Linked DNA regions of Homo sapiens: regions 1 and 3 are each linked to region 2. The links are contacts of gene promoters, found by promoter capture Hi-C in blood cells and fetal thymus (Javierre and others, 2016). All regions are on one chromosome and are shown on one strand. The core of a region is centred on a gene start or on the middle of the fragment in contact, and the rest is flanking DNA. Distances in the headings are between cores, read along the strand shown. Region 1 overlaps LOC105372066 (a long non-coding RNA gene). Region 2 holds the start of ZNF397 (zinc finger protein 397). Region 3 overlaps RPRD1A (regulation of nuclear pre-mRNA domain containing 1A).

Region 1 (3,864 bases), core at 1,167-3,666, 720 kb after region 2:
CTGTAATCCCAGCTACTCAGGAGGCTGAGGCAGGAGAATTGCTTGAACCCAGGAGGCGGAGGTTGCAGTGAGCCAAGATCGTGTCACTGCACTCCAGCCTGGGCAAGACAGCAAGACTCCGTCTCAAAAAAAAAATTAGAAAACAGCCACCCCTATTCATTTATGTATTGTCTATGGTTGTTTATAGCAGCTTTTGCAGAATTGAGATGCAAAAGAGATCATATGGCTCACAAAGCTTGAACTGTCTATTATCTGGCCCTTCATGGGAAGAGTTTGCTAAACTCTACTATAGGCCATCTAAACATAATTGACATTTATAGAACACTATACCCAATGATAGCAGAATATACATTCTTTCCAATTGCACATGGTACGTTCACTAAAAGAGACCAAAATTGGCCATAAAATATCTCTCAGTATACTTCAAAAGATTGAAATCTTACAGTGTATGTTCTTTAACCATAAAGGAATTAAAATAGAGATCAATAAATATATCTAGAAAAGCCACAGATATTTAGAAATTAAACTACACACTTCTAAGTAATATATGGGTCAAATAAGATATCTGGGTTAGAAAATATTTCAAACTGAATGATAATAAAAAGTAGCAGACTAAAGTTTAGGTGCTGCAACTATACCAGTGTTTAGAGGTCAATGTGCAGCTTTAAAAATTATATTAGAAAGGGAGAGAGTCTTAAAATCAATGAGCCAAATTCCACTTTAAGAGCCCAGGAAAAGCAGAGCAAACTAAACACAAAGTAAGTAGAAGGAAAGAAAGAATAAAGATCCATGTAGAAATTGATAAAATTGAAAATAGAAAAACAATAGAGAAAATTAACAAAGCAAAAAGCAAGTCTTTTAAAAGATTAATAAAATTGAAGTTTCACACAAGACTAATCAAGAAGAAAAGATACAAAACAAAATTTACCAATAACAGGAATTAGGTATATCATGTTATTATTTGTTTCCTGTCTGTTCCTTTTGCTTTTTATCCCTAATTTTCCCTTTCCAGCATTGTTTTTAGTTAAGTGAGCATTTTTTAGTATTTCATTTTCATTTTCATTTTATTTTATTATTTATAAATTATACATATATAATTTATTTAATTTTATTTAATTTCATTTTAATTTTCTACTGTGATTTTGACTATATCTCTTGGTATAGGTTTTTAAATGCCTTCTCTAGGGATTACAGTATACAGAACAGTGTCACAATCTATCTGGAATCAATATTTTACCACTCCAACTGGAAGGTGGAAATCTTACCACTATGTTAACTCATTCACCCTCCCCTTTTATGTTATGGTATCTACATATTACATCTATATGCATTAAAATCTTATAAGGTAATGCTATAATTTGTGCTTTCAACTGTCAAATATACTTTAAACATCTCAGGAGAAGAATAGTTATTATATTACCAGAATTTTATCATCTGTTACTCTTCCTTCATTCCTGATATTCCAAGTTTCTTTCTGGTATCATTTCCTTTCTATCTGAAAAACTTCCTTTATTAATTGAACAGGTTTACTGGCAACTAACTGCACATGACACATTCACCAAAAATAATTTTCTTTTATCTGAGAATGTCTCCATGTCATCTTCATTCACAAAATATATTTTCACTGGACATAGAATTCTGCATTGACAGTTCTTTTCTTTTAGCACTTTAAAAATGTGTCACTTCTTTCTTGCCTCCATGGTTTCTGATAACAAACACAGTCATTTAAATCTTCATCCCCCTTACAGGTAATGCATAGGCTTCCTCGGGCTGCCTTCAAAATTGTTCTTTGTCTGTAGTTTCTAGTAATTGGATTATGATGTTTCTGGGCACAAATTTCTTTTGTTTATCCTTTTGGGGCTCGCTAAGGTTCTTGAATCTGTAGGTTTATGTCTTTCACCAAACTCTGGAAATTATTATTATTATATTATTATTTTGAGATGGAGTCTTGCTCTGTTGCCCAGGCTGGAGTGCACTGGTGCAATCTTGGCTCACTGCAAACTCCACCTCCTAGGTTCAAGCAATTCTGCGTCACCCTCCCAAGTAGCTGGGACTACAGGCATGCACTACCACACCAGGATAATTTTGTATTTTTAGTAGAGATGGGGTTTCACCATTTTGGCCAGGCTTGTCTTGAACTCCTGAACTCAGGTGACCACTCACCTTGGCCTCCCAAAATGCTGGGATTACAGGCATGAACCACTGCACCCAGCCTCTCCAAATATTTTTTGAGAACAAACAATCTTTCTCCTCCATTTCTGTTACTCCGATGGCATGAATATTCACCTTTTGATATTTTCGTACAGGTCCCTAAAAGTATGTTCATTGTTTTTCACTTTATTCTCTTTGTTGTTCAGACTGGATGATTTCTATTGATCCTGTCTCAAGTTTGCCAACTCCTCAGTCATCTCTATTCCACTCTTAAGTCCATCCAACAAGTTTTTTACTTCAGTTATTTCATTTTTCTGGTCTGAAATGTCCTTTTATTTCTCTTTTATATCTTCTGTTTCTTTGCTGATGCTTTCTATCTTTCCACTCATGTCAAGAATGTGCATGACTGCCTCTTGGAACATTTGTATAATACCTGCTTTAAGTCTTTGTCAGATAATTCCAACATCTGTAGCCCATTATATTAACGTAATAAAGGGAAAAAATAATATATCAATTGATACAGAAAAGGCATTGGACAAAATTCAATACCCATTAATGATGAAAAAATGTTTTTCACTCTCAGCAAACTAGGAAAAAAAGACAACTTGTTTAATTTAATTGCAGGCACCTACAAAGAAAAAACTACAACTGATAATTCCTACTGATTGCTAAACATTTTCCCCTAATATTGGAAAGAAGGCAAAGTTCTCTATTCTTACAGCTTCTACTGTACTGGACATCCTGGATAGTTCAATAAGGAAAAAGAAAAAGAAAGAAAGAGAAAGAAAGAAAGAAAGAAAGAAAGAAAGAAAGAAAGAAAGAAAGAAAGAAAGAAAAAAAAAAAAGAAAGAAGCAGGAAGGCAGGAAGGCAGGAAAAGAACAAAGGAAGGGAGGGAGGGAAAAAGAAAAAGGAAGGAAGGGAGGGAGGGAAGAAAGAAAGAAAGAGAGAAAGAAAGAAAGAAAGAAAGAAAGAAAGAAAGAAAGAAAGAAGGAAAGAAAAAAAAAGAAAGAAGCAGGAAGGCAGGAAGGCAGGAAAAGAACAAAGGAAGGGAGGGAGGGAAAAAGAAAAAGGAAGGAAGGGAGGGAGGGAAGAAAGAAAGAAAGAGAAAGAAAGAAAGAAAGAAAGAAAGAAAGAAAGAAAGAAAGAAAGAAAGAAAAAAAGAGAAAGAAAGAGAGAAAGGAGGGAGGGAAAAAGAAAAAAAAGAAAGAGAGAAAGAAAGAACGGAAGAAAGAGAGAGAGGGAGGGAGGAAGAGAGAGAGAGAAAGAGAGAGAGAAAGGAAGGAAGGAAGGAGTTGAAAAAGAAGCAATAAATACATTCCTATTTGAAAATGGTATGATCATTGGCATAGAAAATCCTAAAGAATCAACAACAAAAACCTTCTAGATCAAATACAGCAGTTAAACTAGGTTCCTCCTACCAACTAATACATCAGTTTAACTAACTCAATGTACAAAAATCAATAGTATGTCTATATACTAGTAGAAAACACTGGAAAAGTGTTGACTTCTAAGACATATCTACAAAAAAAGAAAGAAAAAACTGGAAAAATGGAATTTAAAAAATAATCTCATTTATCATACCATCAAAAACATAAGAAAAAGTTTGAATACATTCAATAAAAGATATGCAAGCCCTGTACATTGAAAATAACAAAATATCATTGAGATAAGTTAAACAAAACCTAAATAAATGGAAATATATCGTTTTCATA
Region 2 (3,345 bases), core at 686-3,185:
CATTTCAACTGATATGCCTTCTCTCTTTCAATAGTTTCACTCTTACATAGTAGGTTTCTCAATATAACAAGGTGTGTTAGGTTGGATGCAAAGATAACTGCCAAAATTTCCTCCTATGATCAAGCTGCTTAATGTCTATTTCCCTTTTCCACCATTCTAGTCCTTCTGTCATGGAATACTGCAGAAAAATATAATGCCAGTTCCAGACTCAGGCTTTAAGAGAATTAGCATCTTTCCTCCTCCTTAACTCTCTTGGAAGCCAGTCACCATGTAAGAAAGCTTAGGCTAAACTCCTGAATGGAGAGAGGCCTTGTGGAGAAGAATCAAGTAACTTCAACCAAGAGGCAACACCAAGACTTCAGCAATTTGAGTGAAGCCATCTTGGACCTTCCACCCCAGTTAAGTGAAGATAGCTGACACATCATAAAGCAGACTAGCCATCTCCGCTAAGCCCTTCCTGAATTCCTGGCAACAGAACTGTGAGCAATAAAACATCTGCTGTTTTTAGTCACTAAGTCTTGAAGTGGTTCATTATGAAGCAATTGATAATTTATAAACAAATTAATATTATTTGGTTTTTTGCTTTGTAAAATTGCTGTAGTCATTTCACAATGATAAAATTATTTAGTGAGTCACTAATAGCTTTGAATGCTAACGAACATTTTTCTCAAATATGTGTTTTAAGTCTTGGCTCACAAAGGAGAATTTGTTTCTATGTATGTATGTATCGCTTTGTTATTATCCTGTGTACTTTTTTAATATAACATTTTAAAAATATGTAACATTTAAACATGTAAAATGTAACGTTTTAAAAATAAATACAAATAAATGGGAAACGATTTGCAACAAACGAGTTGCTATCCTTAATAAGCAAAAAATTCTCACAAATAAAAAAGAAAAATCTTACTCCCTTAATTTTTTAAATGGGAAAAGCCATCTCTGAAGAACCATAAATGGTCAGTAAACATGAAGGGGGACTATCTTAAGCTCACAAAGTTGAAACATGAGGCATCATTTTTCACCGACTAAATAGCCAAAGAAAAATTTAAACAGTGAGACAATACCAGCAAGCTTCCACTGAAGAACGGGAAGACCCTAAGATAGGCTCCAGGAGTCTACGATACCAGTCTCCTTGAACTATGGGGACGTGGACGTCCCTGGTCACAAGTTGCCTGACTTTGGGCGATGTCTACGGCTGTAAATTTGGGATTATATAGCCACAGCACAGAACTGTTGTAAGGCTCCAGTGATACTCATAGGCAAAAGCAATATAAGTGACTGTTAGTTTTTGTTCAGCCTATTCATCCTTACATTTACTTTTGTCGGAAAAGAACTGGAATCACAGGAAAATCTGAGGTTTTTTTTTTTTTTTTTTTTTTGAGACAGAGTCTCGCTCTGTCGCCCAGGCTGGAGTGCAGCACATCTCAGTTCACTGCAAGCTCCGCCTCCCGGGTTCACGCCATTCTCCTGCCTCAGCCTCCCGAGTAGCTGGAACTACAGGCGCCCGCCAACATGCCCAGCTAAATTTTTGTATTTTTAGTAGAGACGGGGTTTCACCGTGTTAGCCAGGATGGTCTCTATCTCCTGACCTCGTGATCCGCCCGCCTCGGCCACCGCGCCCGGCCGAAAATCTGAATATTTTAATGGAAAACTGGGAGTGAGATTCGGGAATTACTTGAGACCAACAATGATGGGTGGTGCCAGGAGAAAGCCAGGGTGGGAACGGCCCAGGCGAGATGCGGGACCCTCCAGGTGCCGCCGCTCACAAGGACCCCTGACTCCTAGCGCACCCTCCCCTGGCCTTGGAGATTCCGCCGGGCTAGCGGCTACCGGGAGAAGGCGGTGGAAACTGTAGAGCCCGCGGCTCTGATTGGCTACCTCAGAGCAAGGGGCGGGGCGGCGGAGGACCCGAAGGGCGCGAGAGCGGAACACTGCGTACGCGCACTTCCGGTCTTTGTGGCTTGCAGCTCGGGGTGGGTGGCTCATTTCCTGGCCGCTCCTGGGCTTCGCGGTGAGGGACGTGGGCCCCTAGGAAGAGGGAGGTGGGGTTGGGAGCGCGCGCCGGACAGTGGAGGAGCTCCGCTCCTCGGCCTGCCCATCCCCAGGTCGCGGCCCTTTGGCCCGCGCGGCGTCTCCAAGCGACTGGGGAACTCAGAGGAGGCCAGCACTCAAACTCCTGCTTTCCAAAGGAAAACGCAGTTCCGCTGACCCCGTGACTTCGTAAATGCTGCGGTTTAACCAAGGATATAAAAATAGAAGGGCTAGTTAGTTAGTTAGTTAGTGCGGCCGGACTGGTTAAACCTTAAATTTGTAGGCTAAATATTTTAATTCATCTCTTAACGTTAACCGTAGTGTGAGGAATGAATTTTACTCATCTGTCCTGACAAACTAAGGGCATACATTCCTATCGATATCTCGCCATCCTAAAAGCAGGTCAAGTTTGGTCTGTGTCACAACATTTAATACCTATTTGTTACCATATTTTGCTTTTGAACATTTTTAGTCTTGGGATATTCTAAGCTTTTTCAGAACTGATACGGATCTCTTTGCTGCTTTTGTGTATGTGATACCTATCATGTTTTTGAACACATGGTAAGCATTTTACAGATACGTCTTGGTTCTTGGTCAATTCCTCTGTAGACTCGTTTATTCATAAGCAAAAATCTTAATGCTCAGTAAGTGCCTCAGTGTTTGTTGAAGTAATTCGGTAAACACCAAATGCGATCAAATGACAAATATCCAATATTTACATCAACTCATGTTTAATGTGAACTTTTAAAAAAACGTTATTACTGCCTTAAATGAAAATCAACATTACTTGCTTTAGATAGAAAGTAAGTAAAAATAAATGTTTAAAATCAGTATTACTAAATTCTGCCTAAATATTTTTACTCTTGGAAGTCTGATTCTGAAGCCTGTATTTTATTTAAAAGAGAGTTCTACAAGTTTTATTAATACATACATGTTAAAGATAGACTTTTCTCCTTGATACAATCAGAATTGAAAGAATTGGAAAGGAAATTTTCTCACTATGTGATTGATGTTAATGTTGCATTCACATTCTTAGGCTTCTAAAATAGTTTTTTCTAACATTAGTGGTAGGAATTCTTCATAATGGGAGACACTAATTGAGGTTAATGATTTTTAGTTTATCATCACATTATTGTTTTATTTAGTGATAGCCCCAAATCTACTCCCTTTCAATATATTACTAAAGTTACTCATCTTTCTTATTACAAGTACTTAGAGATTTTATTGATTGCTGTAAGTTAACTGCTTTTATATCCTTCAGGAAAGAAGAGATTACTCACACTCCTTCGCAAGCACAGAACCAGTTGTACTGAG
Region 3 (3,908 bases), core at 1,290-3,789, 800 kb after region 2:
TAGTCATTTAAAATAAGATGGTGATTGCTCATGTTATTAAGATGGCACCCTAAATCCTACATTGAATTTAGGATTGTTTTAATAGACATGTTAATTCGAAATCATTATTAAGCTATTGTGAAACAACAGAAGAGCATGAAATGTAAAACAGGTTGAAAGAGATGTCCCTTCAATCAATTACTATTTTTTGTTTATGCAATAAATATTTGCCAAGCTAATAGATTAACTGCTAGGGAGAGTAAATGGGAAAAGTTTAGATGTTTCTGTCTTTAGATTACATGGCCATAAATTTTAAACTGAATTCATTATGACAAAAATATTCCCCTACTCACTATGCTCTGTGGGTGTAGTCATTTCTCTAAGGAAATAGACAAGATTTCAACAGTTGTGGGCCACAGTACATTTTTACTGGTTACAATGTTAAATAGCATACTACTACTGAATATGACTCAAATAAGATTATACATAAGGAAAACAGTGTTGAACATAATATTTTATACTATTCTTATATTTTACTAGAATTAAATTTGAATCACTCAATGTAGTACAGTTATATTCAGAAGCATCATACCTTGTGGCATCCATAGTACAGTGGTGTAGGAAACTTATGGTCAGGACCAATTATGCAGTATCCTATTGATGTGGGCTATCTTATTGGATTTAAGACAAAAATCTTGATCAGGCTACATGTGGTCCTCTAGATGTTAAGTATTCAATTTACAAATTTAAGCATTTGACATATTAAAAAGTCACCTCTGAGTTCACATCATTCTCGAGGAGCAACCAGAAGCCCAACCTTCTCATATACTAAGTCACAACTGATCAAACTTTACAAACCTGTGCCATGCCACTGTATAACCTGGTTTGTCTGTTTAAATTGCTGTCTACCACTTTTCATGATTTTGCAAGTTGCTGGCATGGAATAAAAATAAGAAGAGATGGCTATAACAGAGACCAGCTTCTGGTTTTCAGGCTCCTTGTCTGGTTAGATAAACCACAGTGTACAACTGGTTAAGATATCGGGACCCTATCCTAACATTCAGTCCTGTCTCTTTTGTACCCATCCTTGCCCTCTCAATCCCACCCACAAAATAGATTGGTATTGTTCAATCCAGATTTTTGCCTTCCCAGTGTCAAATGAGTTTAGAAACTCAAATTTGTATTATCTAATTGGGAGATTGCCTGCATCACTTTTGAATGGGTACCTGAACAAACAATCCTTTCACTGCACTTTTACTATGTGCTACACACTATTCCAAGCACTTTACATACATTATCTCAATCCTAACAATATGTCTCTATTTGGCAGCTGAACAAACAAAGCCAAAAACATTATTTGCCCTCAGGGAAATAATGAGGAAGAGATAAGCCAGGATTGGAATCCAAAAAGTCCAACAGCCAAGCAAATCCCTCTTAACAACTAGACCATGCTTCCTGTCATAATTAAAAGGGCATGTTAATCTTTGAGACTCAAAAGTAGCAACTGAAAAGAAGAAAAAGATAAAACAATGCAAAACAAAAAGTAGCAACTGAAATAAAAATATTTTACAATGTTAGCAGCATTATTCACAATAGCCAAGAGTTAAGAGCAACCTAACCCACTGATCAATGAATAAACAAAATGTGAATTATATATTCAATAAAGTATTATTCAGCCTTATAGAAGAAGGAAATGTTGACGCATGTTACAACATGGATGAATCTCCAGGACATCATGCCAGGTGAAATAATCGAGTCATGAAAAAAGACAAACCACTGTATGATTCTACTTATTGGAGGTACTCAAATTCATAGAAAAAAAGAGTAGAAGGATAGTTGCCAAAGGCTGTGGGAATGGGAGGAGAATAGGAAATTATTCATGGGTACAGAGTCTCAGTTTTGCAAAATGAACAGTTCTGGAAACTGGCTACACAACAATGTACTTAACACTACTGGACTGTACACGGAAAAAATGAAGATGGTAAATAATATTTATTACCACAAAAACAAAAAAAATGTTTTTGTTTTTTTTGTTTGAGACAAGTTCTGTCTCCCAGACTAAAGGCTCACTGCAGCCTCGACCTCCTGGGCTCTAGCAATCCTCCTGCCTCAGCTTCCAAGTAGCTGGAACCACAGGCACACGCCACCATGCCTGGCTAATTTTTTAAATTTTTTGTAGAGATAAGGTCTTACTTTGTTGCCCAGGCTGGTCTTGAACTCCTGAGCTCAAGTGACCCTCCCACCTAGGCCTCCCAAAGTGCTGGGATTACTGGTGTGAGCCACTGTGCCTGGCCCTAGAATGTTTTTTAAATTCATGGGTTATATCAATCTCTCAAAGAATTCAGAATTGCTTTTACAATATACACTAAAATAAAAATTTACAAGATTTAAAAATATATTTACCAGTGTTTTCCAAAGGACAAATTCCATATGAGGTGATTGAGCATGGGGTCCAAATACCAAGATACTATTTTCACTTTTATCTTTGTAGGACCAAGCAAAAATATGAAAAATACCCAGCAATCATCACAACTTATGCCCTTCCCTAAATTTTCAGGGAAAGAAATTTACTTCCATTTAAAATTATGTGTCCCTATACATACAGCAAATAATTAATGGCGGTAATCACAGCAAGCAATCCAAGAAAATCACACAAAAAATTTCCAAATGAATTTTGATATTTTTAAAAATAACAGAGCCATAAATTGTTATTAAAAGAGAAACAGTTAACAGAAAGGGAAAACAAACCATGTCATAATTCCACAAAGAAATGCCACTGTTGGCAACAAAGAATGTAAGACTAAGTGACAGGTCTGACTTAGTTAATTCCTATGTTTCTGTTGCTCATGGGGTTCTTTCCAAAAACACCGGTTTTCCAAACCGTCCATTCAATTTAAATAGCATTTATTATTTTAATGTTTGCCATGTACCAGGGACCACGCTAAGTACAGACTAAAATTAACGTTTCCTGTTCAATCAGGAGTTTGCAAGTTCCATACAAATTGGCAGATGATAGGTCACATCACTAAAATGTTACTTTTTTTTTCCTTATTTCTTCTCCCCATGAATATATCACACCAACACAGAAACAATCATAAATAACATATACTTGTGATACAGTTTGGCTGTGTCCCCACCCAAATCTTGAATTGTGGTTCCCATAATCCCATGTCATAGGAGGAACCAGGTGGGAGATAACTGATCATGGGGGCAGCTACCTCCATGTTTTTCTCATGTTAGTAAGTGAGTTCTCATGAGATCTGATGGTTTCATAAAGAGCTTTCCCCCACTTCACTCTGTACTTCTTCCTGCCACCATGTGAATAAGGACGTGTTTGCTTCCTCTTCTGTCATGATTGTAAGTTTCCTGAGGTCTCCCCAGCCCTGAAGAACTGTGAGTCAATTAAATCTCTTTCCTTTATAAATTACCCAGTTTCAGGTATTTCTTCGTAACAGCATGAGAACAGACTAATACAGTAAATTGGTACCAAGTAGTGGGGCACTGCTGTAAAGATACCTGAAAATGTGGAAGCCACTTTGGAACTGGGTAACAGGCAGAGGTTGGAACAGTTTGGAGGGCTCTGAAGAAAACAGAAAGATGTGGGAAAGTTTGGAACTCCCTAGAGACTTGTTGAATGGCTTTGACCAAAATGCTGATAGTGAAGTAGACAATGAAGTCCAGGCTGAAGTGGTCTCAGATGGAGATGAGGAACCTGTTGGAAACTGGAATAAAGGTGACTCTCACTATGCTTTAGCAACAAGACGGGCAGCATTTTGCCCCTGCCCTAGAGATCTGTGGAACTTTGAGGTTAAAAGAGATGATTTAGGGTATCTGGTGGAAGAAATTTCTAGCCAGCAAAGCATTAAAGTGACTTGGGCCCTCTTAAAAGCATTCAGTTCCAGGCATTCACAAAGATACGGTTTGGAATT

What was found. The method cuts DNA at HindIII sites, captures the fragments that hold promoters and counts their contacts. A CHiCAGO score of 5 or more calls a contact.
Region 1: a fragment that was not itself captured here is called in contact with the fragment with the promoter of ZNF397 in region 2 in 6 of 17 cell types (naive CD8 T cells, non-activated CD4 T cells, naive CD4 T cells and 3 more); the score reaches 9.5 in naive CD8 T cells.
Region 3: a fragment that was not itself captured here is called in contact with the fragment with the promoter of ZNF397 in region 2 in 3 of 17 cell types (total B cells, erythroblasts and naive CD4 T cells); the score reaches 7.3 in total B cells.

What each region holds. Positions count from the first base shown.
Region 1 is chr18:35,954,553-35,958,416 of GRCh38, forward strand. The region is part of intron 2 of LOC105372066 (a long non-coding RNA gene); the gene reads right to left. Among named protein-coding and RNA genes, the nearest start is that of RMP24, 16 kb to the right of the region's middle. The HindIII fragment of the contact is 4,367 bases long and covers 234-3,864 here.
Region 2 is chr18:35,239,099-35,242,443 of GRCh38, forward strand. ZNF397 (zinc finger protein 397) reads left to right here and starts at 1,936. Exons shown (of 4, transcript NM_001135178.3): 1 at 1,936-2,011; 2 at 3,293-3,345. RefSeq lists enhancers at 1,618-1,727, 1,673-2,198 and a silencer at 1,988-2,117. The HindIII fragment of the contact is 1,449 bases long and covers 1,070-2,518 here.
Region 3 is chr18:36,034,101-36,038,008 of GRCh38, forward strand. The region is part of intron 1 of RPRD1A (regulation of nuclear pre-mRNA domain containing 1A); the gene reads right to left. Among named protein-coding and RNA genes, the nearest start is that of RPRD1A, 32 kb to the right of the region's middle. The HindIII fragment of the contact is 5,642 bases long and covers 1-3,908 here.